Linked DNA regions of Homo sapiens: regions 1, 2, 3, 5, 6 and 7 are each linked to region 4. The links are contacts of gene promoters, found by promoter capture Hi-C in human tissues and cell types (Jung and others, 2019). All regions are on one chromosome and are shown on one strand. Each heading gives the region's core, a stretch centred on a gene start or on the middle of the fragment in contact. The rest is flanking DNA. Distances are from core to core; before and after follow the strand shown. Region 1 has its middle 12 kb from the start of SLX4. Region 2 overlaps TRAP1 (TNF receptor associated protein 1). Region 3 overlaps CORO7-PAM16 (CORO7-PAM16 readthrough). Region 4 holds the start of ADCY9 (adenylate cyclase 9). Region 5 overlaps CREBBP (CREB binding lysine acetyltransferase). Region 6 overlaps TRAP1 (TNF receptor associated protein 1). Region 7 overlaps SLX4 (SLX4 structure-specific endonuclease subunit).

What was found. The method cuts DNA at HindIII sites, captures the fragments that hold promoters and counts their contacts. A contact is called where the count stands out against the background at its distance.
Region 1: a contact is called between a fragment that was not itself captured here and the fragment with the promoter of ADCY9 in region 4, in 1 of the 25 tissues and cell types used here (hippocampus).
Region 2: a contact is called between a fragment that was not itself captured here and the fragment with the promoter of ADCY9 in region 4, in 1 of the 25 tissues and cell types used here (dorsolateral prefrontal cortex).
Region 3: a contact is called between a fragment that was not itself captured here and the fragment with the promoter of ADCY9 in region 4, in 2 of the 25 tissues and cell types used here (dorsolateral prefrontal cortex and spleen).
Region 5: a contact is called between a fragment that was not itself captured here and the fragment with the promoter of ADCY9 in region 4, in 4 of the 25 tissues and cell types used here (H1 embryonic stem cells, IMR-90 fibroblasts, dorsolateral prefrontal cortex and 1 more).
Region 6: a contact is called between a fragment that was not itself captured here and the fragment with the promoter of ADCY9 in region 4, in 3 of the 25 tissues and cell types used here (IMR-90 fibroblasts, aorta and dorsolateral prefrontal cortex).
Region 7: a fragment that was not itself captured here is called in contact with the fragment with the promoter of ADCY9 in region 4 in 2 of the 25 tissues and cell types used here (dorsolateral prefrontal cortex and hippocampus).

The regions. Positions count from the first base shown.
Region 1 is chr16:3,621,958-3,625,966 of GRCh38, reverse strand. It overlaps a transcript of DNASE1 not described here. Among named protein-coding and RNA genes, the nearest start is that of SLX4, 12 kb to the right of the region's middle. The HindIII fragment of the contact is 6,693 bases long and covers 1-4,009 here.
Region 2 is chr16:3,702,622-3,706,164 of GRCh38, reverse strand. The region is part of intron 1 of TRAP1 (TNF receptor associated protein 1); the gene reads left to right. Among named protein-coding and RNA genes, the nearest start is that of TRAP1, 13 kb to the left of the region's middle. The HindIII fragment of the contact is 6,928 bases long and covers 1-3,543 here.
Region 3 is chr16:4,376,186-4,379,817 of GRCh38, reverse strand. The region is part of intron 9 of CORO7-PAM16 (CORO7-PAM16 readthrough); the gene reads left to right. The region is part of intron 9 of CORO7 (coronin 7); the gene reads left to right. The region is part of intron 1 of VASN (vasorin); the gene reads right to left. Among named protein-coding and RNA genes, the nearest start is that of VASN, 6.2 kb to the right of the region's middle. RefSeq lists enhancers at 379-1,160, 2,721-3,500, 3,501-3,632. The HindIII fragment of the contact is 6,090 bases long and covers 1-3,632 here.
Region 4 is chr16:4,114,622-4,118,412 of GRCh38, reverse strand. It overlaps ADCY9 (adenylate cyclase 9), which reads left to right and starts at 1,971. Exons shown (of 11, transcript NM_001116.4): 1 at 1,971-2,723; 2 at 2,928-3,791. The coding sequence starts at 2,971. RefSeq lists a silencer at 1,764-1,833. The HindIII fragment of the contact is 7,185 bases long and covers 1-3,791 here.
Region 5 is chr16:3,811,123-3,815,193 of GRCh38, reverse strand. The region is part of intron 2 of CREBBP (CREB binding lysine acetyltransferase); the gene reads left to right. Among named protein-coding and RNA genes, the nearest start is that of CREBBP, 68 kb to the left of the region's middle. The HindIII fragment of the contact is 6,097 bases long and covers 1-4,071 here.
Region 6 is chr16:3,674,183-3,678,214 of GRCh38, reverse strand. TRAP1 (TNF receptor associated protein 1) reads left to right here. Exons shown (of 18, transcript NM_016292.3): 6 at 557-717; 7 at 2,070-2,179; 8 at 2,818-2,891; 9 at 3,721-3,876. It also overlaps the pseudogene LOC124903630. Among named protein-coding and RNA genes, the nearest start is that of DNASE1, 22 kb to the right of the region's middle. The HindIII fragment of the contact is 6,931 bases long and covers 1-4,032 here.
Region 7 is chr16:3,605,057-3,608,858 of GRCh38, reverse strand. SLX4 (SLX4 structure-specific endonuclease subunit) reads left to right here. Exons shown (of 15, transcript NM_032444.4): 2 at 1-429; 3 at 2,161-2,385. Among named protein-coding and RNA genes, the nearest start is that of SLX4, 4.6 kb to the left of the region's middle. The HindIII fragment of the contact is 4,547 bases long and covers 227-3,802 here.

The DNA of each region.
Region 1 (4,009 bases), core at 176-2,675, 490 kb after region 4:
CCTGACACCCGGCTAATTTTTAAATTGTTTGTTCAGACAGGGTCCCACTATTTTGCTCAGTCTGATCTCAAACTCCTGGGCTAAAGCGATCCTTCTGCCTCGGCCTCCTGAAGTGTTGGGATTACAGGCATGAGCCACCATGCACAGCCCTTTACACCCTCTTAATGGTGCCTTATAAAGGTTCTTAATTTTAATGTCACATAATTTGTCACTTCTTTATGGTTAGTGGTTTGTGTCCCTGTTTAAGAATTTTTTGCCTACCCCAAAGTCATGAAGATTCCCTCCTATGCCTTTTTTAGCACCTTTATTCTATATTGGCCGTTTCATTTATTTATTTATTTTTTGACACAGGGTCTTGCTCTGTTGCCCAGGCTGGAGTGCAGAAAGGCGATTATGATTCACTGCAGCCTCGACCTCCTGGGCTCAAGCGATCCCATTTCAGCCTACTGAATAGCTGGGAGTAGAGGCATGTGCTACCATGCTGGCTAATTTTATTTAAACAATTTTTTTTTTGCAGCGATGGGTCTCACTACACAGCCCAGGCTGGCCTTGAACCATGGGCTCAGGCAATTCTCCCTTCTCAGTCTCCCAAGTTTCAGAGACTACAAGAATATAACATCATGCCTAGCCCCATTAGTTTGTTTTATTGTTTTTTGTTTTGGAGACAGAGTCTCACTCTGTTGCCCAGGCTGGAATGCAGTGGTACGATCTCGGCTCACTGTAACCCCTGCCTCCAGGGCTCAAGCAATTCTCCTGCCTCAGCCTCCCAAGTAGCTGGGATTACAGGCATGCACCACCACACCTGGCTAACTTTTGTATTTTAGTAGAGACGGGGTTTCACCATGTTGGCCAGGCTGGTCTTGAACTCCCAACCTCAGGTGATCCGCCCGCCTAGGCCTCCCAAAGTGCTGGGATTACAGGAGTGAGCCACTGCCCCCGGCCCCCATTAAGTTTTAATAAGAAAAACTGCAGGCTGGGCATGATGGCTCACACCTGTAATCTCAGACTGTGAGAGGCTGGGGCAAGCAAATCACTTGAGCCCAGTTCGAGACGAGCCTGGGCAACATGGCAAAACCCTATCTCTACTAAAAATAAAAAATAAAATAAAAAATTAGCCAGGTGTGCTGGAAGAAACCTATATTCTCAGCTACAGAAATAGAATACAGGCTGAGGTGGGAGGACTGTTTGAGCCTGGGAGGCAGAGGATGCAGTGACCCAAGTTCCCACTACTGCACTCCAGCCTGGGTGACGACAAAGTAAGACTCCATCTCAAAAAACAAGAAAAGAAAAATTGATTGCAAAAAAATTGTTACACAATGTTTGCTGGTTTGGGCCACCACTGGGAATGGCTTTGCCTGTCTAGATGTTCGGATGCTGAGCACAGTCCACCCAGTTGGACTGCTCCAGGTATAGTACACAGTGGCTGCTAGATTCAGGGTCTTATGGGAACAGCTTCAGCCACTGTGAACTCAGCCAGGGGCGGCAAGGGCATTCTGAAGGTTTAGAGCTCGGCATAAGGGACGCTAACCCAGTGCCTAGAGCACCACCAGGTGCCTTACGCAGCTGGCCAATAACAATTTTAATGTAAAAATAAAAACTCTAGAAGAAAACATGCAGAAAATTACTTTATAATCTCAAAGTAGAGAAGACCTTGCTAACCAAGGACACAAAAGCCACTAACCTTTTTTTTTTTTTTTTGAGACAGAGTCTCACTCTGTCGCCCAGGCTGGAATGCAGTGGCACAGTCTAAGGTCACTGAAACCTCTGCCTCCCGGGTTCAAGCGATTCTCCTGCCTCAGCTTCCTGGGATTACAGGCGTGCACTACCGCGCCCAGCTGATTTTTGTATTTTTAGTAGAGACGGGGTTTCACCATGTTGGCCAGGCTGGTCTTGCACTCAAGTGATCCGCCTGCCTTAGCCTCCCAAAGTGCTGGGATTACAGGTAGTGAGCCACCGCACCTGGCCTCCATACTGTTTTCTATATAGAGGTTATAGTAATTTACAGTCCCATTAACAGCATATAAGCATTTCCTTTTCTGTGCATCCATGCCAACATCTGTTGTTTTTTGACTTTTTAATAATAGCCATTCTGACCAGTGTAAGATGATATCTCACTGTGGTTTTGATTTGCATTTCTCTGATGATTACTGATGTGAGCACTTTTTCATGTTTCTTTGCCGCTTGTATGTCTTCACTTGAGAAGTATGTGTTCTTGTCCTTTGCCTACTTTCTCTCTAATTCCTGGCCTCAAGTGATCCTCCTGCCTCAGCATCCCAAAGTCCTGGGATTACAGGTGTTAGCCACCACGCCCAGCCTTTGCTCACTTACTAATGGGTTTTTTTTTCTTGTTGAGATCCTTGGAGATACTACGTATTAGTCCTTTGCCAGAGGCTTAATTTGCAAATATTTTCTCCCATTCTATAGGTTGTCTATTTACTCTGTTATTTCTTTTGCTGTGTAGAAGTGTTTTCATTTAATTAAGTCCCATTTGCCTATTTTTCTTCTTGTTGCATTTGCTTTTGAGGTCTTAGTCATATATTCTTTGCCTAGGCTAATATCCAGAAGAGTTTTTCCTAGGGTTTCTTCTAAGATCTTTAGAGTTTCAGGTCTTATGTTTAAGTCTTTGAGTTAATTTTTGTATGCGGTGAGAGATAGAGGTACGGTTTCATTTTTCTATATATGGTTAGCCAATTTTCCCAGCGCTATTTATTGAATAGCGTGTCCTTCCCCCACTGCATATTTGTCAACTTTATTGAAGATCAGTTGGTTGCAGGCAAGTGGCATTACTTCTGGGTTCTCTATTCTGTCCCACTGATCTATGGTACAAAAATATGTACAAGTACCATGCTGTTTTAGTTACTGCATGAGTAGCTAGGACCACAGGTGTGCACCACCATGCCCAGCTAATTTTTTTGGGGGGACGTGGGGGGCAGGTACATTAGAGATGGAGTCTTACTATGTTGCCGAGGCTGGTCTCAAGCTCTCAAGAAATCCTTTCCCCTCACTCTCCCAAAAGAGGCCTTGTAGTATAATTTCAAGTCAGGTAATGTGATGCCTCCAGCTTTGAAGAACCTTTGTTCATTACAAGGCATCATTAAGAGAACGTAAAGGTGAGTCAAACACTGGAAGAAGGTATGTGCATACAAGAAAAGTTATTTTACTACAAAAAACTGTAAAGCTCTACATGGAAAAAATTTTATTAAAAGTCAAAGCCAAGCCAGGTACAGTAGCACATAGGTGTAGTCCCAGCTACGTGGGAGGCTGAAGTAGGGGGATCACTTGAGCCCAGGAGTTCAAGTCTAGCCTGGGCAACATGGTGAGACTCCACCTCAAAAAAGAAAAAAAATTTTTTTAAGTCAAATGATAAAAACTGGTAAAAACTATCTGTAACATTGTAACACTATATCCATTTCCACAATATAGAGTTCTTACAAATCAATAGGAAAAAGATTAATCACATAATCTTACAAACCAATAGGAAAAAGATTAATCACACAATCTAAAAGAATGCAAAGCCCACAAACATAAGGTCATAGGTAAACAAGTAGCTTTTAATCACGTGAAGAAAATACTCGTTTCCTCAATGAAAGAAATGTAAAGTAAAGCTACAAGACACCAATTTTTAACCGCTGAAATAGTAAAAGACAAAATGTTTCATGATATATTCTGTGAGTGTGTGGATATGAGTAAAAAGACATTCATTGTTAACGGAATGGAAACTGATTCAGCCTCCGTTTTTTTTTTTTTTTTTTTCAGTCTTGCTCTGTCACCTAGGCTGGAGTACAGTGGTGTGATCTTGGCTCACTGCAACCTCCACCTTCCGGGTTCAAGCGATTCTCCTGCCTCAGTCTCTGGAGTAGCTGGAATTACAGGGGTGCGCCACCATGCCCAGCTAATGTTATATTTTTAGTAAAGACGGGGTTTCAACATGTTGGCCACGCTGTTCTTAAACTCCTGACCTCAAGTGATCCACCTGCCTCGGTCTCCCAAAGTACTGGCATTACAGGCA
Region 2 (3,543 bases), core at 487-2,986, 410 kb after region 4:
CTGGCCAACATGGCAAAACCCGTCTCTACTAAAAATACAAAAATTAACTGGGCGTGGTGGCGGGTGCCTCAGCAGGAGAATCACTTGACCCTGGGAATTGGAGGTTGCAGTGAGCGGAGATTACACCACTGCAGAGTGAGACTCCGTCTCAAAAAAAAAAAAAGAAAAAAAGGGCCGGGACTGGTGGCTCACGCCTGTAATCCCAGCACTTTGGGAGGCCGAGGTGGGCCGATCACCTGAGGTCAGGAGTTTGAGACCAGCCTGACCAACATGGAGAAACCCCGTCTCTACTAAAAAAAAATATATATATATATAAAATTAGCCGGGTGTGGTGGCACATGCCTGTAATCTCAGCTACTCGGGAGGCTGAGGCAGGAGAATCACTTGAACCCGGGAGGCAGAGGTTGCAGTGAGCCAAGATCATGTCATTGCACTCCAGCCTGGCAACGAGAGTGAAACTCTGTCTCACAAAAAATTTGGAAGCAACCCAGTTGCCCATCATTTGATGAATGGAAAAAAATAATCTATACAGCGGAGTGCTCTTCAGTTATAAAAAGGAATGAGGTGCTGATACATGCTATATGTGGATGAACCCCAAAGACTTTATGCTAAGTCAAAGAAGCCAGACAAAAAACCATATATTGTATGATTTCATTTCTGTGAAGTGCCCAGAAAAGGCAAATCCATAGAGACAGACATAGATGAGTAGTTGCCAAGAGCTGGTGGGAGAGGGAAAAGAGAGTGAACATGAGTGGCTGTAGGGCTTCTTTTGGGGTGATAAAAATGTTCTGTAGTTGTCCGGGCATGGTGGCTCATGCCTGTAATCCCAGCACTTTGGGAGGCCGATGCGGGCGGATCACGAGGTCAGGAGATCGAGACCATCCTGGCTAACATGGTGAAACCCTGTGTCTACTAAAAAAAAAATACAAAAAATTAGCCGGGTGTGGTGGCGGGCGCCTGTAGTCCCAGCTACTCGGGACGCTGAGGCAGGAGAATGGCATGAACCCAGGACGCAGAGCTTACAGTGAGCCCAGATGGCTCCACTGCACTCCAGCCTGGGCGACAGAGCGAGACTCCGTCTCAAAAAAAAAAATGTTCTGTGGTTAGTGGTCGTGGCTGTACAACTTTGTGAATATACTAAAACCACTGAATTGTGCACTTGGGTGAATTATATGGCAGATGTGTTACATCTCAATAAAGTTACTAAATCTTTCATGTTTTCTTTCAGTACTTTTAGCTTTTATTTTTACTTCTATGGTCCATCTGGAATTCATTTTGACTTAATAAGTGACAGCGGAAATTAAAAAAAAAAAAATAAGAGGTTGGTCTTGCTATGTTGCCCAGGCTGGTCTAGAACTCCTGGCCTCAAGTGTTCCTCCCAACTTGGCCTTCCAAAGCACTGGGGTTACAAACATGAGCCCCTGTGCCCTGCTGGAAATTAATTTAACCTTTTTTTGTGTGTGTTTACTTTTTGAGAGTTGGGGGGGTCTCCCTATGTTACCTAGGCTGGCCTCGAGCTCCTGAGCTCGAGGGAGCCTCCTCCTGCCTGGATCTCCCTCCCAAAGTGCTGGGATTACAGGTGTGAGCAGCCATGCCTGGTCTGGAAATTTATTTTAATATTGTAGCTTTATATTAATGTTCTTTAATATTTGATGAATTTCCTCAGTTTTTTCAAAATTTCTTTGGCTATTTATGTACACTAACTTTTCCACATGAATTTTAGAATGAGAATAGTTTAAAAATGTGTTTGAAATTTTGTAAATGTGTTTATGTTTCTCGTAAGTTTTTAAGTGTTTTTTATAATGCAACGTTTTGTTTGTTTTGAGACAGAGTCGTGCTGTCGCCTAGGCTCGAGTGCAGAGATGCAATTTCAGCTCACTGAACCTCTGCCTCCCAGGTTCAAGCGATTCTAGTGCGTTGGTCTCGCGAGTAGCTAAGATTACAGGTGTGCATCCCCATGCCCAGCTAATTTTTGTATTTTTAGTAGAGACGGGTTTTCACCATTTTGGCCAGGCTGTTCTCAAACCCCTGACCTCAGCTGATCTGCCTACCTTGGCTTCTCAAAGTGCTGGGATTACAGGCGTGAGGCACCTCACCTGGCCTGTAATGTAACTTTTGTAAATAGTTTTGTTTTTTGATTTTTTTTTTTTGAGACGGGGTCTCGCTCTGTCGCCCAGGCTGGAGTGCAGTGGCGCGATCTCGGCTCACTGCACGCTCCGCCTCCCGCGTTCACTCCATTCTCCTGCCTCAGCCTCCCGAGTAGCTGGGACCACAGGCACCCGCCACCACGCCCGGCTAATTTTTTGTATTTTCAATAGAGACTGGCTTTCACCGTGTTAGCCAGGATGATCTTGATCTCCTGACCTCGTGATCTGCCCGCCTCGGCCTCCCAAAGTGCTGGGATTACAGGCGTAAGCCACCGCGCCCAGCCTAACTTTTGTAAATAGTTTTATAAGTAGGGTATTTATTTTGTAGATTATTGATATATGTAGTCCAATATGCAAACGATACAGAGGTATATCTGATGAAAAACTCGTCTCCCACTGACATGCCTCAGACAACACCCCTCCTGGTGGCAAGTCCATTAGCCAGTTTTTGGGTGTCCTTGCAGAGATCTGCGTGGCATATGAGAATAGCTATGCATGCATGTATCACATAACATGTATATGCATTTGAACACCATGGTAGTGTGTGCAAACCGCTGTTCTACCTCTAGTGTTTTTTCTTTGTGTTAGAGGTAATTCAGCATCAGCACACATTACACAGCATTGTCCCATTTCTCTATAATCCCATGCTTTCCAAGTGTTACCTTACGTCTGTAGTTTACTTGTTAGTCCTCCGCTTGTGAGTATGTAGCATATGTAACAGTCTTAAGTGGGTTATTTAATGACAGTCTTTGGCCCTAGTAGTGTTTCAGAGTTTTCTTAAAAGATCTTGCCAAAAAAGAAAAAAAAGGAAAGATTTTGCTTTCTTGGTAAATGCATTCTTAATTGTTTAGTTTTTGTTCCTGGGGTCTCTTATGTCATATTTTCTAACTAGTTTTCTGTATATAGGACGTCCGGGTGTTGATTTTTGTATTCTACCATCTTACTGAATGCTTTTTTTTTTTTTTTTTTTTTTTCAAGACGGAGTTTCACTCTTGTTCTCCAGGCTGGAGTGCAATGGCAGCATCTTGGCTTACCACAACCTCCACCTCCTGGGTTCAAGCGATTCTCCTACCTCGGCCTCCCAAGTAGCTGGGATTACAGGCATCCACGACAACACCTGGCTAATTTTGTATTTTTAGTAGAGATGGAGTTTCTCCATGTTGGTCAGGCTGGTCTCAAACTCCCAACCTCAGGTGATCCGCCTACCACAGCCTCCCAAAGTGCCAGGATTACAGGTGTGAGCCACCGCACCCAGCTTTTTAAATTTCTCTTAAAGACAGGGTCTCACTTTGTCACCCAGGCTAGAGTGCAGTGGTGTGATCTCGGCTCACTGCAGCCTTTACCCTCTGGTCTCAAGTGATCCTTCCGCCTCAAGTACCCCAAGTAGCTGGAACTA
Region 3 (3,632 bases), core at 180-2,679, 260 kb before region 4:
GCCCGCCTCAGCCTCCAAAAGTGCTGGGATTACAGGCATGAGCCACCGTGCCCGGCTTCGTCTACTGTTTCTTGGGGTCTGCCCTGAGCTGGGCACCAAGAAAGATGAGCAGCAGCCATCCCCTTGGCAGTGATGGTGCAAGTCCTTCCCATGTGCCAGCGAAGTGGGAAGGACGAAGGAACACTAAGTGTTTACCGTCACCTCAGGTAGCCCCCCAGCAGCCACGTCAGGGCAGACAGAAGAAAGCAGGGCTCATGGAGGTGCAGGGACTCGCTGCCATTGCGGTGCCAGCAAGTCCGAGCTAGAGCCCAGGTGTGCAGCAGCCACCTGTGAAGGGTGCGTGCCCTCCAGATGGCCCTGGGGGCGGGGGCTCCCACCAGCCGCTCCAGGCTCCAGATCTTAGCTGCACTGCCCAAGTCAGGCAGGTCTGTGGCTGGCCCCCATCACCTAGACTCCTGGGGAGACCGCTGGGGCCGTCCCCAGGAAGAGCCCTCCCCACTTTGGCACCCCTAGAAGTCCCTGAGCCTCATACGGGGTGCCAGCCCATCCCCAGGAAGCATCCTGCCCAGTGGCGCCTGCAGCTCACACAAGAGCCCTTTGTGCTGGAGTCCGGGCTTCCCCTTCCCCCACACAGGCTGTGCAGGTAGTCCAGGGAACACGACCCCGACCCAGCCTGCACTCCGCCCCAGGCTGGGGGGACCCGTCCATAGGGCTCCCTCTCCCCCAGGTACGTGGGTTCCTGGAATGTGAGGAGGAGCAGGTGGTCCCAGGACAGATTAGACAAGTCACTGGTGAGGTGACCACTGGGGTCTGCGGGTAGCTCGAGGTGAAGGAAGAAGCCCTTGTCCCCGGGGTTGGGCCCACGCAGGCCCTGCCCACGTGTAGTATCGCACTGCCAGAGTCGTCTCCCCTAGGAGCTACCGACCCTGAGCCCCTAGCCAGTTAGCGACAACAAGCACCCTTCAGAGGCCAGCAGGCTAAGCCTCCCCAACCTAGCGGTGTCCCCCTTGCTGTCGTGTGCCCCCTCACCTCCCTAAGGTGAGACCCAGCCTGCCTTTGCCATAGGTGTCTCCAGGCCCACTTAGCTCAGGTCTGCTGAGTGAACAGCCCAGGAGGGCCTGGCACTGAGCACTGGAAGAAGTTAGCACCCCAAACCCCAGGCACGCGTCCCTGGCCCGGCCAGCCCACCCCAGGGGGGCTCGTGTCTGATGACCTAAGGCCCTGGGGCCACACCCCTAGCCTTCTCTTCCCCCATGGGACCCGCTCCACCCTCACTGACTCAGAGGACGGCGGGTGCGGCCTGGCCTCCAGATGTGGGCTGTGAGTGACCCCCACCCACCCCATGTCCATATGGGGGGTGAGGCCACCTCTGCCTGAATTAGCCCTCCCAGCAGGGCCAGACCAGGGTCAGGAAGGATGCAGCCAGGTTCCAGAGTGGGAGGGGATCCTCCACGTGGCCAGCCTGGCCAGCCTGGCCACCACTGTGGCCGCAGCTCCCCTTGGGCCTCGTTTAAGGTCACAGTTAAGAGCGCTCACTCCAGGCAGGCGGCCCTGTGCTCAGAGGTGTCCAAGCTGTGAGGCCGCAGACAGTGACTTTGCTCTCACACCTCGGTTTCTTCATCTGAGTATCTGGGACACTTCAGGGCTGCAGTGGGGGATGCATGTGGAGTCCTCAGCCCTGCAAGGCCAGGTGTGCAGGCCAGCTCTTAGGGGCACGTGCTGGGGGGTGCTCTTCACCCTGCACTGGGGAGGGGGACCAGCCATAGCTCTGGGCTCCGTAATCTGTTGGGTCTTTAATCAGCAAGGTTGTGAAGGGAGAGGGGATGCTGTGGGTCCATCTGGCCACAGGGTGGCTTTCCGGCTGACAGGTAGTGAGCTGTGGAATGTGCGTTCCTGTTAGCAGGACAGGGGTCTAGGTCAGGACTGTGGGCTGGGGTCCTGGGCTGACCATCCAGCAGGCGGCAGCCAGCCTGCTTCCCAGCCCCGTAAAATGTGCGGTGAGCTCTTTTGCCTGAGCCCCAATTCTACCCCCACATCAAAGGGAGGAGGGAGGAGGCAGCGCTGGAGCTTTGGAAAACCCCAGAGTTTGTAAGCTACAGGCTGGCAGCTCTGAGGGCACCGCCAGGGACTCCTGGCACTGAGAACCCATCAGCCAGCCCCGAGAGGAACCCAGCGAGGGAAGGCTGACTGTGGAGGGGACGGTGGCAGGGGACAGAGGCCAGAGTTCCTTTCTCAACTGTGGGCCTCAGTTTCTCACCTCTGGAGTTGGTGCAAGCAGCCCTGCCCCCTCACCCTCTGGAGTTGTAGTTTTCTGTTGTTCTGTTTGTTTTCAAATGGGGAAGTTCTTTTAACAAGTTCTGGGAGCTGTCCCGCCCGCCTGGGGTCTGGGCGTGTGCTTGGTGTGTGCGTGGGGCTGGGGGCTGTCTACAGGTCACACGGTGGTTGCCGCCGCCCACCCACCCTCCCACCCGGTGATCCCAGGACCTGGGCTTTGATATTTGATCACTAGTCAGGCAGGGAGGTGAGACCTTTTCCTCTGCCTGGTGCAGGAGGTGTTCCGGAGGCAGCCCTGGGATTCCTGGGATTCGGGGACGTCGGGGGGTGGGAAGATGACGCAAGGGTCTGGGGCCTCCGTCCTCCACCCAAGTTCCTCAGCCTTGCTGAGTGCTGCTGCCGGCCTTGCTCCCTCCCTGGCACAGTAACTGGCATAGGGCGACAGGGTCCACAGCCCGGCCACGACCCCTACCTCAGCCCCCATTGTGCAGTGGGCGCTGCTCGTGGTGCTCGTGGTGCCTGTGTCTGGGGTGACTTGGTCTGTGCTCGGAGCACTTGCCAAGTGGTCGGTAAACATTCACTGCGGAGGGCGTCACTCATAAACGCAGAACTCTGCCTGCCCCCTGGGCGTGGGTACTACTAAGGGAGAGGGTTTCAGGCCAGCTTTACACAGATCAGACATCCCCACACCAAGGCTGCCCTTCACCCTGGGGGCTGGGGAGCGGGGGTGGGGTATCTCTGGTTCTGGAAGGGGGCACGTGGTGGGTGAGCTGTCCCTTGGCGGCCCCTTCAGCACAGGACTTCAGGGAGGGGCCCTATGAGTAAGGAGGACAAGGCACTCGTCATCTCAACTCCCAGGGGGACGCCCACCCACCTCTGGGGTACACCACACACGCCCAGGGTCAGGCGGGGACGGGCCAGGGGATAGCATGGCTGGGGTGGGACCCAGGCATCTGGTGACCACATCAGCCCCTGGCGAGAACATCTCACTGATTCTGGGGCAGGCGGTGTGCCTGCTGAGTAGGGGACAGGCTTGGACAGACAGATAGACAGTCTGAGGCCAGTACGCCCCTCCTGTGCCGTATGCTTCAGCGTGGGTGCAGGACAGGCGCTGCAGGTCTGACCCTGAGACTCCGGGCCCCCGCTCCTCATGCTGGCCCGCCAAGGCTCTGTGTGGCCGGTCAGGCCTGGCAGCAGCCCAGCCCCGGGAGTCTGCCAACCCCTCCAGGCAGGCGGGACTGTGCCGGCGGCCAGGACGGCTGGCTCCAGTTTCGCTGACGTGTCCGAGGAGGCTCAGGGCCCGGCTGGGTCCGCCCCGTCTCCCCTTCCTTGGGACACAGCAGTCCCAAGGGCAGGGC
Region 4 (3,791 bases), core at 722-3,221:
TTACAGGTGTGAGCCACTGCACAGGGCCCAGCTTCCCCTAAAAATGTTAACGTCTTACCTAACCATAGTAAGAGGATCAGAACCAGGAAATTGCAGATCTTATGTGAATTTTGCCCGCTCTCCTGCTACTGTCCTTTCCTGTTCCATGTTCCCAACCAGCATCCCATGTTCCATTTAGTTGTTGTATCTATCCCCTTAGGGACGATTCCTAGATTGTGACAGTTTCTCAGTCTTTGTCTTTCAAGACCCAAAGTGTCCAAGGACACTTTTGATGGGTACTGGTTAATCACTTTGTAGAACAGGTCTCAATCTGGGTTTGTCTGGTGTTTTCTTGCGATTGGATTGAGATTACACACTTCTGCAGGAATACCACCACAATATGTTGCTTTTAGTTTTTTCCTCCTTTATTGTGGTAAAATACACTCAACATAACATTTACCATTTAAACCACTTTATTTTATTTTATTATTATTTTTTGAGATGGAGTTTCACTCTTGTTGCCCAGGCTGGAGTGTAATGGTGCGAACTCAGCTCACCACAACCTCCGCCTCCCGGGTTCAAGCAATTCTCCTGCCTCGGCCTCTCGAGTAGCTGGGATTACAGGCATGTGCCACCACGTCCGGCTAATTTTTGTATTTTTAGTAGAGATGGGGTTTCTCCGTGTTGGTCAGGCTGGTCTCGAACTCCCGACCTCAGGTGATCCGCCCACCTCGGCCTCCCAAAGTGCTGGGATTACAGGCGTGAGCCACCGCTCCCGGCCTAAACCACTTTAAAGTGTATGATTCAAGGGCAGTATGTAGATTCATCCTGTTGGATCATTTCTAGACTTTTTCATCATCCTAAAACGAAACCCCAAGCTGCTTATCTTCCTCCCCTAGCACCTGGCAACCTCCAATCTGTGTCGCCTCTACGGATTTGCCAATTCGAGACATTTCATCTGGATGGAATCATACGCTATGTGGCCTTTTTTGTTTGGCTTCTTTCACTAGCATAACGTTTCCCGGGTTCCTCCACACTGCAGCATGCATCGGTGCTCCATTCCTTTTTGTAGCCGAATAATATTCCATTGCATGGACAGATCACATTTTACTTTTATTTTCTAATTCAACAGTGAGACCTGGTGTGGGCCCCGGCGCTGGGCCTGGGAGGCGAGGGAGGGGATGGAAGAGAGCCCCGTGACTGGCAGGAGGCACTGTGGAGTGTGGGGAGAAGGGGTCGGGATCTGCATGCTAGAGAGAATAGGATTTTATTTACACGTGGCAATGTTTATGGAGGCCAATGCACAACTGCCATTATGGGACGCGGACTCCTTTGAAAGTCTCATTTGTGTAAAAGGAAAAGCAGTAGTTCATGAGGAGGGGGAGAAGGGCTCAAGGACAGCAAGGTAAACTACCCCTGGGGCGGGGGAACGTGGTCGTCGGTGGGCCCAGCTTTGGAGGCTAGGCCCGTGAAGGTCGCCCCGTGAGCAGGTCCAGGGCAGGCCGAGTGCCCCGGGGCCCGCATTCATTGCTTACAGAGCAAGGGGAGCCTCCCGGGAGGGAAATCCAACGGTTGGAAACTTCGATTTATCCCAAAGGCGTGCCGAGTGGGAAGGCAACATTTTGATTTCCCAAACGTTGCGGCCAGCGGCTTCTTCCACGGCAGGCGCCTTCAGGTCTCTCCGCAGGGTCGGGACCCCGGGCGGCGCGCGGCCTCTGGGACGCCGAGGGAGGGCGGGCCCACAGCGCCCGGAGCGCGGACAGCGGCCACAGCCCGCCGCCTAGAAGCGGCGCCGCCCGGGGCGGGGGGCGGAGCCGAGCGCGCGCCCCGCCCCGCCCCGCCCCGCCCCGCAGCCCCAGCCCAGCGCGCGCACCAAGGCGGGGCGGCGCGCGGCCCGTGCGCGTGTCCGGGGCCAGGAGGCGGTGGCGGCGAGCGCGGGCCGCGCGTGCGCGCTGCGGCTGGGCGAGGGGCGGCGCGGGCGCGCGTCTGTCAGTGACAGCGGGCGGGGCAGGGGCCGGAGATGGTGGCGGCGGCAGCTCTTCCGACATGAGGCAGCGGCCGCGGGGGACACGGCGGCGGGCGCGGCGGCGGCCGCATCTCTAGCTCGGGGAGGCGGCCCCCGGCGTGGGCGCGGGCGGGCGGGCGTCCCGGCCGGCGTCGCGGGAGCCCGGCTCTGCGGCAGCGTCTGCACCGCCGCCCGGCGAGGGGCCCGCGTCCGTGGTTCCACGCGCTCGGTCCCGGGACAGCTGCGGCCGCGGCGGGAGCGGCGGCGCACTCGGGGGGAAGCAGGCCCCACTAGACGGGCCGCGCCGACGGGCTCCGCGCACTCGCAGCCCGGGGCGCCCCCACCCCCAGCGCCCGCCGCCGCGGGCAGGGCCGGCCCGGAGCGCGGGGGGCGGCCGGGGAGCGCGAGCCGGGGGCGCCCGCCGAAGCTCGCTGCTCCGGGTCGGGGTCCGGGCCCGGGGCCGGCCGCGCGCCGCCTTTGACGCATCGGAGCGCGGCTCCTGCAGGATGGAGGGCTCCGCGCCGCCAGCGGAGTTGTTTGTGCGCAGGCGGCTCGCGGGGCTGGGAGCGCTCAAGGTCTGAACTTCCCTCCGGAGCCGCAGCTGGAGGAGGCGAGCGCGCGAGGAGGAGAAGCCGCGCGGCGCGGAGGCCACCCTCGGGGCGAGAGGCGCGGAAGGCGAGCGAGCAAAGCGGTCCCGGAGCCACGGCGGCCACGCGGCGGGGACCCCCGGGCGTTCTAGGTCCGTCCCGAGCGGTTCTCGTGCGCCTCGAAGGTGGGGGCGGTGGGGGCGGTGGGAGCACCGCTGAGCCGGGAACCACAGGAACAGATGGTGCCTGTCCAGGTCGCGTGCTGGAGCCGCCCCTTAGGACAGGAGCAGGTCCCGGGCCTCTAGGCGTGCATGCCTAGGTGGGAGCGCCGCTAACTCTCCCCGTTTTGCTGGCAGGTACTGGTGACCCCGGCCGGGGCAGGCCCCGGGACTCGACAACATGGCTTCCCCACCCCACCAGCAGCTGCTGCATCACCACAGCACCGAGGTGAGCTGCGACTCCAGCGGGGACAGCAACAGCGTGCGCGTCAAGATCAACCCCAAGCAGCTGTCCTCCAACAGCCACCCCAAGCACTGCAAATACAGCATCTCCTCTAGCTGCAGCAGCTCTGGGGACTCCGGGGGCGTCCCCCGGCGAGTGGGCGGCGGAGGCCGGCTGCGCAGGCAGAAGAAGCTGCCCCAGCTGTTCGAGAGGGCCTCCAGCCGCTGGTGGGACCCCAAGTTCGACTCGGTGAACCTGGAGGAGGCCTGCCTGGAGCGCTGCTTCCCGCAGACCCAGCGCCGGTTCCGGTATGCGCTCTTCTACATCGGCTTCGCCTGCCTTCTGTGGAGCATCTATTTTGCGGTCCACATGAGATCCAGACTGATCGTCATGGTCGCCCCCGCGCTGTGCTTCCTCCTGGTGTGTGTGGGCTTCTTTCTGTTTACCTTCACCAAGCTGTACGCCCGGCATTACGCGTGGACCTCGCTGGCTCTCACCCTGCTGGTGTTCGCCCTGACCCTGGCTGCGCAGTTCCAGGTCTTGACGCCTGTCTCAGGACGCGGCGACAGCTCCAACCTTACGGCCACAGCCCGGCCCACAGATACTTGCTTATCTCAAGTGGGGAGCTTCTCCATGTGCATCGAAGTGCTCTTTTTGCTCTATACCGTCATGCACTTACCTTTGTACCTGAGTTTGTGTCTGGGGGTGGCCTACTCTGTCCTTTTCGAGACCTTTGGCTACCATTTCCGGGATGAAGCCTGCTTCCCCTCGCCCGGAGC
Region 5 (4,071 bases), core at 880-3,379, 300 kb after region 4:
ATCTTGATTTTAGTATTTCATTTTGGGCATTGGTCCTAAGAAGTATATGTTAGCCTAGGGTGGGGGACCACAGTGCTCAGTTTGATTAATGGAGAATAGATATATACTAGGAATTCAGAAATCTAGAATCTCTAGAAGCAAATGGTTTTTATTCATAACTGCAGGCTAGGACCAGTGCATGGCTCTTGAGTTCTGCCAGGAGGTGGTTTGGCACCAGGAGGTAGCCTTGCCTGGGCAATGAGCAGTGATACCCTGTGAGAGAGCTGACCTCTTTAGCCTGGTTATTAACTTTCTCTGATAAGGAGAGGCTGGGGCTGGCCCTGGTGCCAGAGATTTGAACCCTAACCTCCTGCATGTAGCCTGGGTTTTGTTTTTATCATAGGCTAAAGACGGGAATTTTTTCCCCTATTTTTGAGAATTGTGTAGATCCCTATGAGCTGGACGTTCCTTACATACCGTTCATGATCTTTGACTTGCCATCTTTTTTACCTTGTGAGAATCAAGGTAAAAACTTGTTGAGACTGTTTCCTTCACTCTCTTATCTGATGGCCAAGAAGAAAAGGTACAAACACGTTTTTGATGAAATCTGTCAGAGCGCTTCCAAACACTGGGTTACCCTTTGAAATTGACCAGTTATGGCCAGGCGTGGTGGCTTATACCTGTAATCCCAACACCTGGGGAGGCTTGAGGTGTATGGATCACTTGAGGCCAGGAGTTTGAGGCCAGCGTGGCCAACATGGTAAAACCCTGTCTCTACTAAAAAATACAAAAATTTGCTGGGTGTGGTGGTGCATGCCTGTGAACTCAACTACTTGGGAGGCTGAGACACGAGAATTGCTTGAATCTGGGAGGCGGAGGTTGCAGGGAGCTGAAATCATGCCACTGCATTCCAGCCTAGGCAACAGAACGAGACTCTGTCTCAAACACACACACACACACACACACACACACACACACACACACACACACACACACACAGAACGAGACTCTGTCTCAAACACACACACACACACACACACACACACACACTAAACAACATTGACCAGTTAGAAAAGGGCCCCAGGCCAGGCAAGTATTACCCATCTGATCACACACTCATACTCACCCTGGCAGGGCTATCTTAGGAAAATTGTCAAAATATCTGGGAAGTTTTGGAAATAAACTTTCTGAAGCAAGTCAGGTGAACTTTGAGGTCCACAGAGCACACTGGCCTCTTGGTACTTAGGTCCCCTCTTCTCTGGAGCCAGGGTGCCTGGGCATTTGGTGTGGAAGGAAGATGGTTACCTGTTCCCTTCCCCACCCCTTCAGCTGTCACCCACTTTGGTTTGTCAATGCTGGGCCTAATTAATTAGAAACTTCCAAAAGACGTTGATTTTTTGTTTGTTTGTTTGTCAAATTGGTTGACATAAGGTGTGAGCTCCGTGACAAGTGGGAAATGCATCTACGCAGCCTCAGAACTGGGCTTGGCTCATACCAGGCACTTGGTGAATACCAGTTGACTTCGAGGATGAATTGATCGAGGGAAAATGAGTGTGGGTGTTCTGTCATATTTTGTCCGAAGTCAGAAATTTAGGAACTGGGGGAAAAAAAACTATATTTTTTGTTGTTGTTCGTGTTGTTGTATTCAAATTCTAGGCTTCTAAGAACAATGTTTCAGCGGTTTGGTTATATGTAATAAGACAAATTCTGAGAGTAGTAAGTGTTCCATGGAATTAATTTAGTATAGTGGTTTCTGAAAATATAAATTCCTGCTTCAATTAAGTTTCAGATGACAGTTGAAGGAAGCTTCTTGCAAATCAGAAATGTGCTTAATATTTATCGAGCTACCATCTTGCCTAGATTAAGTCATTTGAACTCGAAATTGAGTCTGGTTTGTGGACTTGCAGAAGAATTAGTGTCTCAGTTCACTTAAGTAGAGCACCTAGTGGTGACAAGAATGTGATTGCTTTCCAAAAGGTGAGAAATGTCACCTAGGAGGACTACATGGGGAAGGAAATCACCTGCGTATGAAATGCACAGAGCTAGAACTTTCTGGTTATACTCCTTTGGTTTTTATTTGTGTTTCTGTACAGGCATTTCAGCAGAAAGGGCCAGTTGTGTTGAGTGTTGATTTGTTTGTAGCCTAGACTTTTAGAGCTGAAAGAAATAATACGATCCATCTTGTTCAAGACACTCATCTTACAGGCGAGGAGTTTGAAGTCCATAGAAGGAATGTTAAGTTACCCAGAGTGGACATGCTGGCGTGGCAGTCACCAGGTGAGGCTGATGGAGAGAACTGAGCTATGATTTCTTAACTGGAAACTCACCCCTGGGAGGTTTTCCCTATGCGGGGACCTTCCCAGTCCATCAAACTGACCACTACTCCAGAAATACAGAACACACAATAGACAGAAGGTGGAATATTAGAGCTTTGCAAAAAAGCAAAGACAGGCAGCCCAAGCATCCAGTTTCTTAATTAGTCGTTGTTTCTCCACAGGGAGAAAGATAAGCACTGGGATATTGCCATGGCAATTCCTGAATTGACCTGTGGAGGCTGGAGCTGGGGGTCATCAGGGAACTTGGCCCACATCTGTTGATGGAAGGAATTCCAGTTGGTTGCAGGCCCTCACGGAAGCATAGCTGAGGGTTCCTCTTTCCCATTCCTGCCTTTATCTAGTATATATTTGATTTCAGTGCACTTTAATTTTATAAAAAACTTTATTATGGAAAATTTTAGGCCGGGCGCAGTGGCTCACACCTGTAATCCCAGTACATTGGGAGGCCAAGGTGGGCGGATCACCTGAGGTCAGGAGTTCAAGACCAGCTTGGCCAACATGATGAAACTTTGTCTCTACTAAAAATACAAAAATTAGCTGGGTGTGATGGCACGAGCCCATAATCCCAGCTACTCAGGAGGCTGAGGCAGGAGAATTGCTTGAACCTGGGAGAGGGAGGTTTCAGTGAGCCGAGATCACGCCACTGCACTCCAGCCTGGGTGACAGAGTGACACACTCTCAAAAAATATAAATAAATACATAAATTTTACACCTGTACAGTGGTAGAGAGGATACTATAACCTCTCTGTACCCATCGCCTACTGCTTGGTTAGTGATTATCAGTACCTTACCAGGCTCTCTCCATCTATGCCCTTTTCCTGCCACCTCCTCCTGCCCAGTGGATTAGAGGTGACCCTTAAGCAACTCAGGGGTTAAGGGTGCTGACCCTGCCAGTCGAAAATCTGCTTGTAACCTTTTGACTCCATAAAAGTTTAACTACTACTAATCCCCTGCTGTTGATCAGAAGCCTTACCAATAGCATACACATTTGCTTAACACAAATTTCATGTTTTATGTGTTATATACTGTATCTTTACAGTGAAGTAAGCTAGAGAAAAGAAAACGTTATTAGGAAAACCGTAAGGGGCCGGGCACGGTGGCTCATGCCTGTAATCCGAGCACTTTGGGAGGCCAAGGTGGATGGATCACCTGAGGTCAGGAGTTTGAGAACAGCCTGGCCAGCATGATGAAACCGTGTCTCTACTAAAAATACAAAAAAATTAGCCGGACCTGGTGGCACGTGCCTGTAGTACCAGCTACTCAGGAGGCTGAGGCAAGAGAATCGCTTGAACCCAGGCGGTAGAGGTTGGCAGTGAGCCGAGACAGCTCCACTGCACTCCAGCCTAGGCGACAGAGCAAGATGCTGTCTCTATTAAAATAAATAAATAAAACCATAAGGAAAAGAAAATATATGTACCATTCATTAAGTGAAAGTGGGTCATCATCAAGGTCTTCATCCTCATTGTCTTCACGTTGAGGAGGATGAGGAGGTGCTGGTCTTGATCTCTTGGTTGGCAGAGGCTGAGGAGTTTGAAGAGGAGCAGGAGAGATTGAAAAATATTTCCATATATGTAGACCCATGCAGTTCAAACCCATGTTGGTCATGGGTCAGGTGTATTTTAAAGGAGATCCCAGGTGTTGTATCATTTCATTGCAATATTTCCACTGTGTGTTTTGAACTAATGGAAACTTAGTTCAAATCTGATGGGGAACCTAACAGAAACTAGATACCTATAGAGTAATTAAGGATTAAACT
Region 6 (4,032 bases), core at 1-2,500, 440 kb after region 4:
CATCGGACAACGTGGGCCAGGGCAGTGGGCGTGTGTATTTTACTTGACTTTGGCCTTAGGACCTTTGGCAGTATTATAGTAGAAAAATGAAGTGCTGTGCGGTGCTTACAGACGCATGCGCGTGATTTCTACTCTTTTTCCCACAAAGTGTAGAGTCCAGGAGACTTGAATATGGAAGCCAGTTTGGAGCCTCTCCTCACTCCTGGCCTTCCTATGGAAGGAGCTTATTCAAGGGAAAGAGCTTATTCAAGCTGCTCTTTCCCCACCCCCAGGTGTGACCCACAGGCCTCCACCTGTCTGGGACAGGCAGGACTGTGAGCTTTGGGAATCAAATGGAAAACACACTTGTCCCACTGCTGCCAGCTGGTTGTCCTAGGGCTAATGTGTCACCTCTCTGTGACTTAGCTCTTCACGTGTAGAATGGGGTGGAAAAGTACTCGGTGTGGCTGTTTTCAGGATGAAGGGGTCTTAGCGGTGCTCGCAGAAGAGCCACGGTGTTGGGAGTGTCTGCTCTCTGGAGGGGAGGCTGCCTCACTAACTGGCCTCTGCCCCACAGGCCTTCCTGGATGCTCTGCAGAACCAGGCTGAGGCCAGCAGCAAGATCATCGGCCAGTTTGGAGTGGGTTTCTACTCAGCTTTCATGGTGGCTGACAGAGTGGAGGTCTATTCCCGCTCGGCAGCCCCGGGGAGCCTGGGTTACCAGTGGCTTTCAGATGGGTGAGTGACGAATGTCGCCTGACAGGCAGCTCAAAGCTGAGCTGGAGCCCTTAGCATGGAGTTTGGAAAGGGATGGACTCAGAAAACGTACACAGGCATTTTCTGGGCTTTTTATATGAAATCTGACTCTCCCATTTTGGGGAGTTAGTGACTTTTGTGGCTCCAGGTGGCCTATGGCACCTGTCTGGTCCCATGTGGTTGGTCACCACCACTGCGCTCGGGAAGGCAGGTCCGGCCCGCGCTGAGCTCCTTTCTCAGTGGCTGAGCTGCAGGACTGGCCTGTCGCCTGGTGGACACTATGCAGCCTCCTGTGACCGACCTTCTGCAAGAGCTCATTCTGCTTCCTCCCAGCCCTGGCATTTCCTGGCTTTGTCTCCCCAGCCCACTTCTGCCTCTATAGGGTGAGGAGCCTGCTGGGGGCTTTTTTTTTTTTTTTTTCCTTTGGGACGGAGTTTTACTCTTGTTGCCTAGGCTGGAGTGCAATGGCACAATCTTGGCTCACTGCCACCTCCGCCTCCCAGGTTCAAGCAATTGGCCTGCCTCAGCCTCCTGAGTAGCTGGGACTACAGGCGCATGCCACCACGCCCAGCTAATTTTGTATTTTTAGTAGAGACAGGGTTTCTCCATGTTGGTCAGACTGGTCTCGAACCCCGACCTCAGGTGATCTGCCCGTCTTGGCCTCCCAAAGTGCTGGGATTATAGACGTGAGCCACCACGCCTGGCTCCGAGGGCTTTTTAGCAGGTGAGCCGCTTCCAGCCAGCCGAGGCGTCCTCCCTCCGTGATGCCATTTCTGCTCCACAGTGTGTGCACTGTGCTCAGCTTGACTCCCCACTCTCCCAAAACTAACATTCCTGTTTAATTCCATGGGAGCGGGGCTCAGAGTAAACTTAGGCCAAGGCATCAACATGGCCCTGCCGGGGGATTCCCCCCTCCTGTGCTTCGGAGATGGTTTTCTGCTCTTCTTAGGGGGCGCCTGTCCCCCTGGCCTTTGTTTTTGCCCCTGGGCATCTGGCACCCGATTTGGAGCTGGGCCAGTCCCCCACAGTGCCCCAGGCCTGCTTTTGGGGTAAGCCCAGAAGCTTCTTCGAAGCCCAGGGTCGGTGGAGGACCCCCGCCCCCCCGCCCCCCGCCCGAGGGAACCAGGAGAACTCTGCCGCCTGCGACAGGCTCATCGTTCCTGATGGGCATGTGATGGCCTGAGTGGTGCGCTGGGGTCAGAAATGGGGCATTTGAGGTGTGTTGTGTGTTGTTTGGGCTCTGCCTATGAAACCCTCGGGAACCGCTGGAGTCCCATGCAGGGTATGTCCCAGTGTCACATCCACCTGGCTTTTCCTTTCTTTGCCTGCCTTAGTTCTGGAGTGTTTGAAATCGCCGAAGCTTCGGGAGTTAGAACCGGGACAAAAATCATCATCCACCTGAAATCCGACTGCAAGGAGTTTTCCAGCGAGGCCCGGGTGCGAGGTGAGCGGGAGCCCGGGCCCAGGCTCACTCTGGGATCCATGTGTGGCCTGGAGGCCACCAGGTCAGCAGGCATTTTCCCTGGTTCTACCTGCACGTAGGGTGCACAGGCAGAGCCGTGAAGGGCCGAGCCGCTGCGGGACTGGGAGGGGGGCTGCCCGCCAGGGCTGCGTAGCATCGAGCTCCTGCTGGGACTGGGAGGAAGCTGGCCTGGCTGAGGCGGACCTCCTCCTCCTTCCTCTGCGTGGCCCTTGGCCTTTAGTGCACCTGGGGGTTTGGCGCAGTCCTGTCCCAGGATGTGGGCGTGGCCTTCCCTCTTTGTGTCCTGCTGGACACTCAGGGAGGCCCTGAGTACCCCCAGGAGTCAGCCCAGAAAGCCATGTTCCAGCCACAAGCTGACATTGCAGTCTCGCAGCAGCCGGGGCCTCCACAGCTCTGGTTCTCACGTGGGCTCCGCTGCTGCCCCCGTGAGACTGGGGGGAGGACAGGTGTCCCCACTGTGCCCTGTTTCTGTACCTGTGAAGTGTACACAGCATGGAGGACCCTTCCCAGCAGGCTGGCGCTCATCCTGGAGCTGCTGCAAAGCTTGCGTTTCCACAAGCATTGTAGATGCAGTGTGGTTTTTCTTTTGTCCCTTCCAGATGTGGTAACGAAGTACAGCAACTTCGTCAGCTTCCCCTTGTACTTGAATGGAAGGCGGATGAACACCTTGCAGGTGAGCCCTGAGTTCCTCTAGGGACTGGTCAAACATGGAGACAAATCTGTACGTTTCAGGGCAGCGGAGAAGAGATGAGCCCAGGGGATGCGGCCCAGAGTCACAGGGCGAGCTGCTCTGTGGAGATGAGACCTGGGTGTGGGGATGAGACAGGGGCCCAGCTCTACCACAGCCCTGCCCCTGTGCACCGGGCAGCCGGGGTCAGGGGTCAGGGTTCACTGAGGCGTAACGCCCATCCCAGCTGGCTCACCACATCAGTGTGCAGCCATGGTGTTCAGTGCAGCCACAGAGCTGTGCAGCCACCCCGCATCAATTCCAGAACATCCCATCACCCCAAAAAGCAGCCCTTTCCCCACTGCCCCTCCCCCAGTCCCAGCAGCCACGGTCTCCTTTCTGTCCATTGTGCTGCCTGTTCCAGACGTTTCTCCTGGATGGAGTCACACGGCATGCTGTCCTCAGTGACTGACTTCCCCCTCGCGGCTCAGCTGCGGTGCAGCGTGGGTCGTCATCGCTCTCACGGCCCACACTGTATTCGTCAGCTCGCCCCTGCTGGGCAGCGTCATCCTCTCCCACAGGCCCCCTCAGGTCCCGGCTGGTCCTCCTGACATGTTGTCCTGAGGAGCTCCTGCCCCAGAGCCTTGTGTGTCTCCCCTGCACTACCCGGCATAGCCCAGCGGTGGGGCTGGAGAGGGGTCTACGCCTGAGACCACCGCCCGTCTGTCCCAGGAGCCTGTCCAGGGCCAGGCGCTGCACTGGCTCAGGCCTGCACGGTGGTGGAGAAGACGTGCGTGGTGAACACGACGCCCTCCCCGCCGATCTCCGTTTCCAGGCCATCTGGATGATGGACCCCAAGGATGTCCGTGAGTGGCAACATGAGGAGTTCTACCGCTACGTCGCGCAGGCTCACGACAAGCCCCGCTACACCCTGCACTATAAGACGGACGCACCGCTCAACATCCGCAGCATCTTCTACGTGCCCGACATGGTGAGGCACTGTGGCAGTCCCACGGCCCTCAGGGTGACTCTGTTGTCCCCTGTGGCATCAGCTCTGCAGATGTCACATGATTAACATGGCAGTGTGAGGGCATGAAAAACATAGGTAGTGCTGGGTGTGGTGGCTCACGCCTGTTATCCCAGCACT
Region 7 (3,802 bases), core at 1,251-3,750, 510 kb after region 4:
AAAGCCTTAAAACTGGTCAGATGATGGATGAGTCTGATGAGGACTTTAAAGAACTCTGCGCTAGCTTTTTCCAAAGGGTGAAAAAACATGGAATCAAGGAAGTGTCAGGAGAAAGGAAGACACAAAAGGCTGCCTCAAACGGCACTCAGATAAGAAGCAAATTGAAAAGGACCAAACAAACTGCTACCAAGACCAAAACCCTTCAAGGCCCTGCAGAGAAGAAACCTCCGTCTGGCAGCCAGGCCCCTAGGACTAAAAAGCAAAGGGTAACCAAATGGCAAGCAAGTGAACCGGCCCACTCTGTGAATGGGGAGGGGGGTGTGCTTGCCTCTGCTCCAGATCCACCTGTGCTCCGGGAAACAGCACAAAACACCCAGACGGGTAACCAGCAAGAACCATCGCCAAACCTTTCCAGAGAGAAAACCAGAGGTAATTTGTACTCTTTTAAACCAGGGGCTGGAAAACTTCCTGGAAAGGGCCAGATCGTAAATATTTTGGCTTTGTAGGCCACACAGACTCTGTCACAACTACTCAACTCTGCTGTCATAGTGAGAAAGCAGGCGTGGACAATATGTAAATGAACAGGCATGGCCATATGCCAGTAAAACTTTATTTACAAAAACAGGCAGCCAGCCACATGACCGTAGTTTGCTAACTTTTGGTTTGTTTTTATTTTTTAATTTTTAAGCTTAAAAAAAAATTTAGAGCTGGAGGTCTCACTATGTTGCCCAGGCTGGTCTTGAACTCCTGGACTCAAGCAATCCTCGTGCCTCAGCCTCTCAGAGTGCTGGGATTACAGGCGTAAGCCACTGCGCCCGGCTGACTCCTGGTTTAAACAACAGTCAAGAAAAACATAACCCGTGTGAATTTTTCACATGATTGTGTTTGGAGTCCTCTGCTCTTTCAGAATTTCCTATGAAATTCTGTTATATGATTGACATGAGTTACACAAACAACACAATAATGCTGCTTCTCTTGTTTTCTTGAATTTATTCCAAAGTGGGTAAGTTGGACTGGGCCAGCCAATTTGGATAGGCTGCTGAGAGGGCCGCATGAGGACTCTGTGTGGGCTCAAGTCCCAGGAGAATCTTCAGGTTCTTTCTTTCTCTCTCTGAAGACCTTTTAATCTTTTCCTTTGTTATTGTTATTGATTTATTTACTTACTTAGTTTTTAGAGACAGGATCTTGGTCTCTCACCCAGGCTGGAGTGCAGTGGTGCTATCATAGCTTACTGCAGCCTTGACCTCCCAGGTTCAAGCAGTCCTCCCTGCCTCAGCCTCCCGAGTAGCTGGGACCACAGGCACCCACCACCGTGCCTGGATAATTTTTTAACTGTTTAAAGCAGTTTTCTTGCCCTGCTGCCCTTGGTATACTGAGCTATATGCTTACTACACATTCTTCATGCAAAACTGAAAACTACCCTTGCATATATAATACACCATGGGCTCTCTGAGCTCCTGAGTTCTGTTTCTAAATTTCCTTTGCCCTCACTTCCTGATCTTAATAACCTCTCAGTAGAGTGGTGGTAGAGTCTCAGGTCGCATAGACTACTGGAAGGCATCAGCAGTGTTGCCTCACCAACTTTACTGGTCTCTCGTGCTCTTTGCCAGTCGGATGAAATCTATGCATGGTTCCCCCAAAACACGTATCCATGCGCGTATCTGCAAAACTGGCACACAACTTCATGGGGTTCATGGATCCCCACTGAAGATCATCCGTGGATCCCAAGTTAAAGAAGAACTGATCTAGGACATAAACCTTTGTCATTAATATTTCTTTAATAATAGCTTTATTGGGGTATAATTGATATTCCATAAAATTCACCATTTAAAAGGGTATGGTTCAGTGGTTTTTAGTATATTCACAGACTTGTCCAACCACCACCACTACCTAACGTTAGAACAGTTTTATCATCCTAAAAATAAACCCCATGCTCATTAGCAGTCACATCCCATTCCCCTCCTGTTATTGATATTTATGTCTATATTGCCATAAACAAAGAGGTTACCAACAAGCAACCAGTCCTCTTCACATTTGTGAGTCAAACCTAAACTAGTTGATAAAGGACTCTTGAAACTTGCGTCTAACCTGTATCTGGTAGAAAAGTCTTTTATTTCTCCAGCTACAACAGATGGTTGTGAATATTTTCCTCCTTGCCAGAGAATGTGCCCAACAGCGACTCCCAGCCTCCTCCTTCCTGTTTGACAACAGCAGTGCCAAGTCCCTCCAAACCCCGCACAGCACAATTGGTCCTACAGCGAATGCAGCAGTTCAAGAGAGCAGACCCCGAGCGTTTGAGACACGCTTCAGAAGAGTGCTCCCTCGAGGCTGCGCGGGAAGAAAATGTCCCAAAGGATCCTCAAGAGGAGATGATGGCGGGGAATGGTATGATGAGTGTGTTTCTGTCTTCCACACAGAGATAAGTTAATACAACTCTGAGGAAGGGAGGCGGGAAGGAATCAGCATTTGTTGAGTTTCTTCTGTGGATAGGCTCTCTGCTTGATGTTTTACCTTTGCCACTTCACTGGATCCAGCCAGAGAATGAAGAGTCTCTGGGATCATTTCCCACCTAGCTTCCTTGATAAGGTACCGTTTTGTTTTTTTTTCTGAGACAGAGCCTTGCTCTGTCACCCAGGCTGGAGTGCAGTGACATGATCTCAGCTCACTGCAACCTCCGCCTCCCAGGTTCAAGCAATTATCTTGCCCCAGCCAGTGGGATTACAGACGTGTGCCACCACACCTGGCCAATTTTTGTATTTTTAGTAGAGACAGGGTTTCGCCAAGTTGGCCAGGCTGGTCTCGAACTCCTGACCTCAAGTGATCTGCCTACCTCAGCTCCCCAAAGTGCTGGGATTACAGGCGTGAACCATTGCACCTGGCCCTCTTCCTTTTTTTTTTTTTTTTTTTTTTTTGAGATGGAGTCTCGCTCCGTCACCCAGGCTGGAGTGCAGTGGCACGATATTAGCTCACTGCAAGCTCCACCTCCCAGGTTCACGCCATTCTCCTGCCTCAGCCTCCCGAGTAGCTGGGACTACAGGCTCCCACCACCACGCCTGGCTAATTTTTTGTATTTTTAGTAGAGACAAGGTTTCACCTTGTTAGCCAGGATGGTCTCGATCTCCTGACCTCGTGATCCACCCGCCTTGGCCTCCCAAAGTGCTGGGATTACAGGCGTGAGCCACTGTGCCTGGCCTCCTTTTTTTAAAAATTATGACTTTTTATTATGAAAGCTTTCCCTTTCAGTTTTTTCCTTTTAAAAAGATAACCCTCAGTATTCACAAAGAACTCTTCCTTTCAGAAAAGGTTTTTTTGTTGTTGTTGTTTTAATTACAATGAAGCCAGGCATGATGGCTCATGCCTATAATCCCAAAACTTTGGGAGGCCAAGGCAGGAGGACTACTTGAGGTCACAAGTTCGAGACCAGCCTGGACAACATAGTGAGACCCCCATCTCTACAAAAAAATTTTAGGGGCCAGGCGTGGTGGCTCACGCCTGTAATGCCAGCACTTTGGGAGGCCGAGGTGCGCAGATCACAAGGTCAGGAGATTGAGACCATCCTGGCTAACACAGTGAAACCCCATCTCTATGAAAAATACAAAAAATTAGCAAGGTATGGTGGTGGGTGCCTGTAGTCCCAGCTACTCGGGAGGCTGAGGCAGGAGAATGGCGTGAACCTGGGAGACAGAGCTTGCAGTGAGCCGAGATTGCACCACTGCACTCCAGCCTGGGCAACAGAGCAAGACTCTGACTCAAAAAAAAATTTTTTTTTAATTAGCTGGGCATGATGGTGCACAACTGTAGT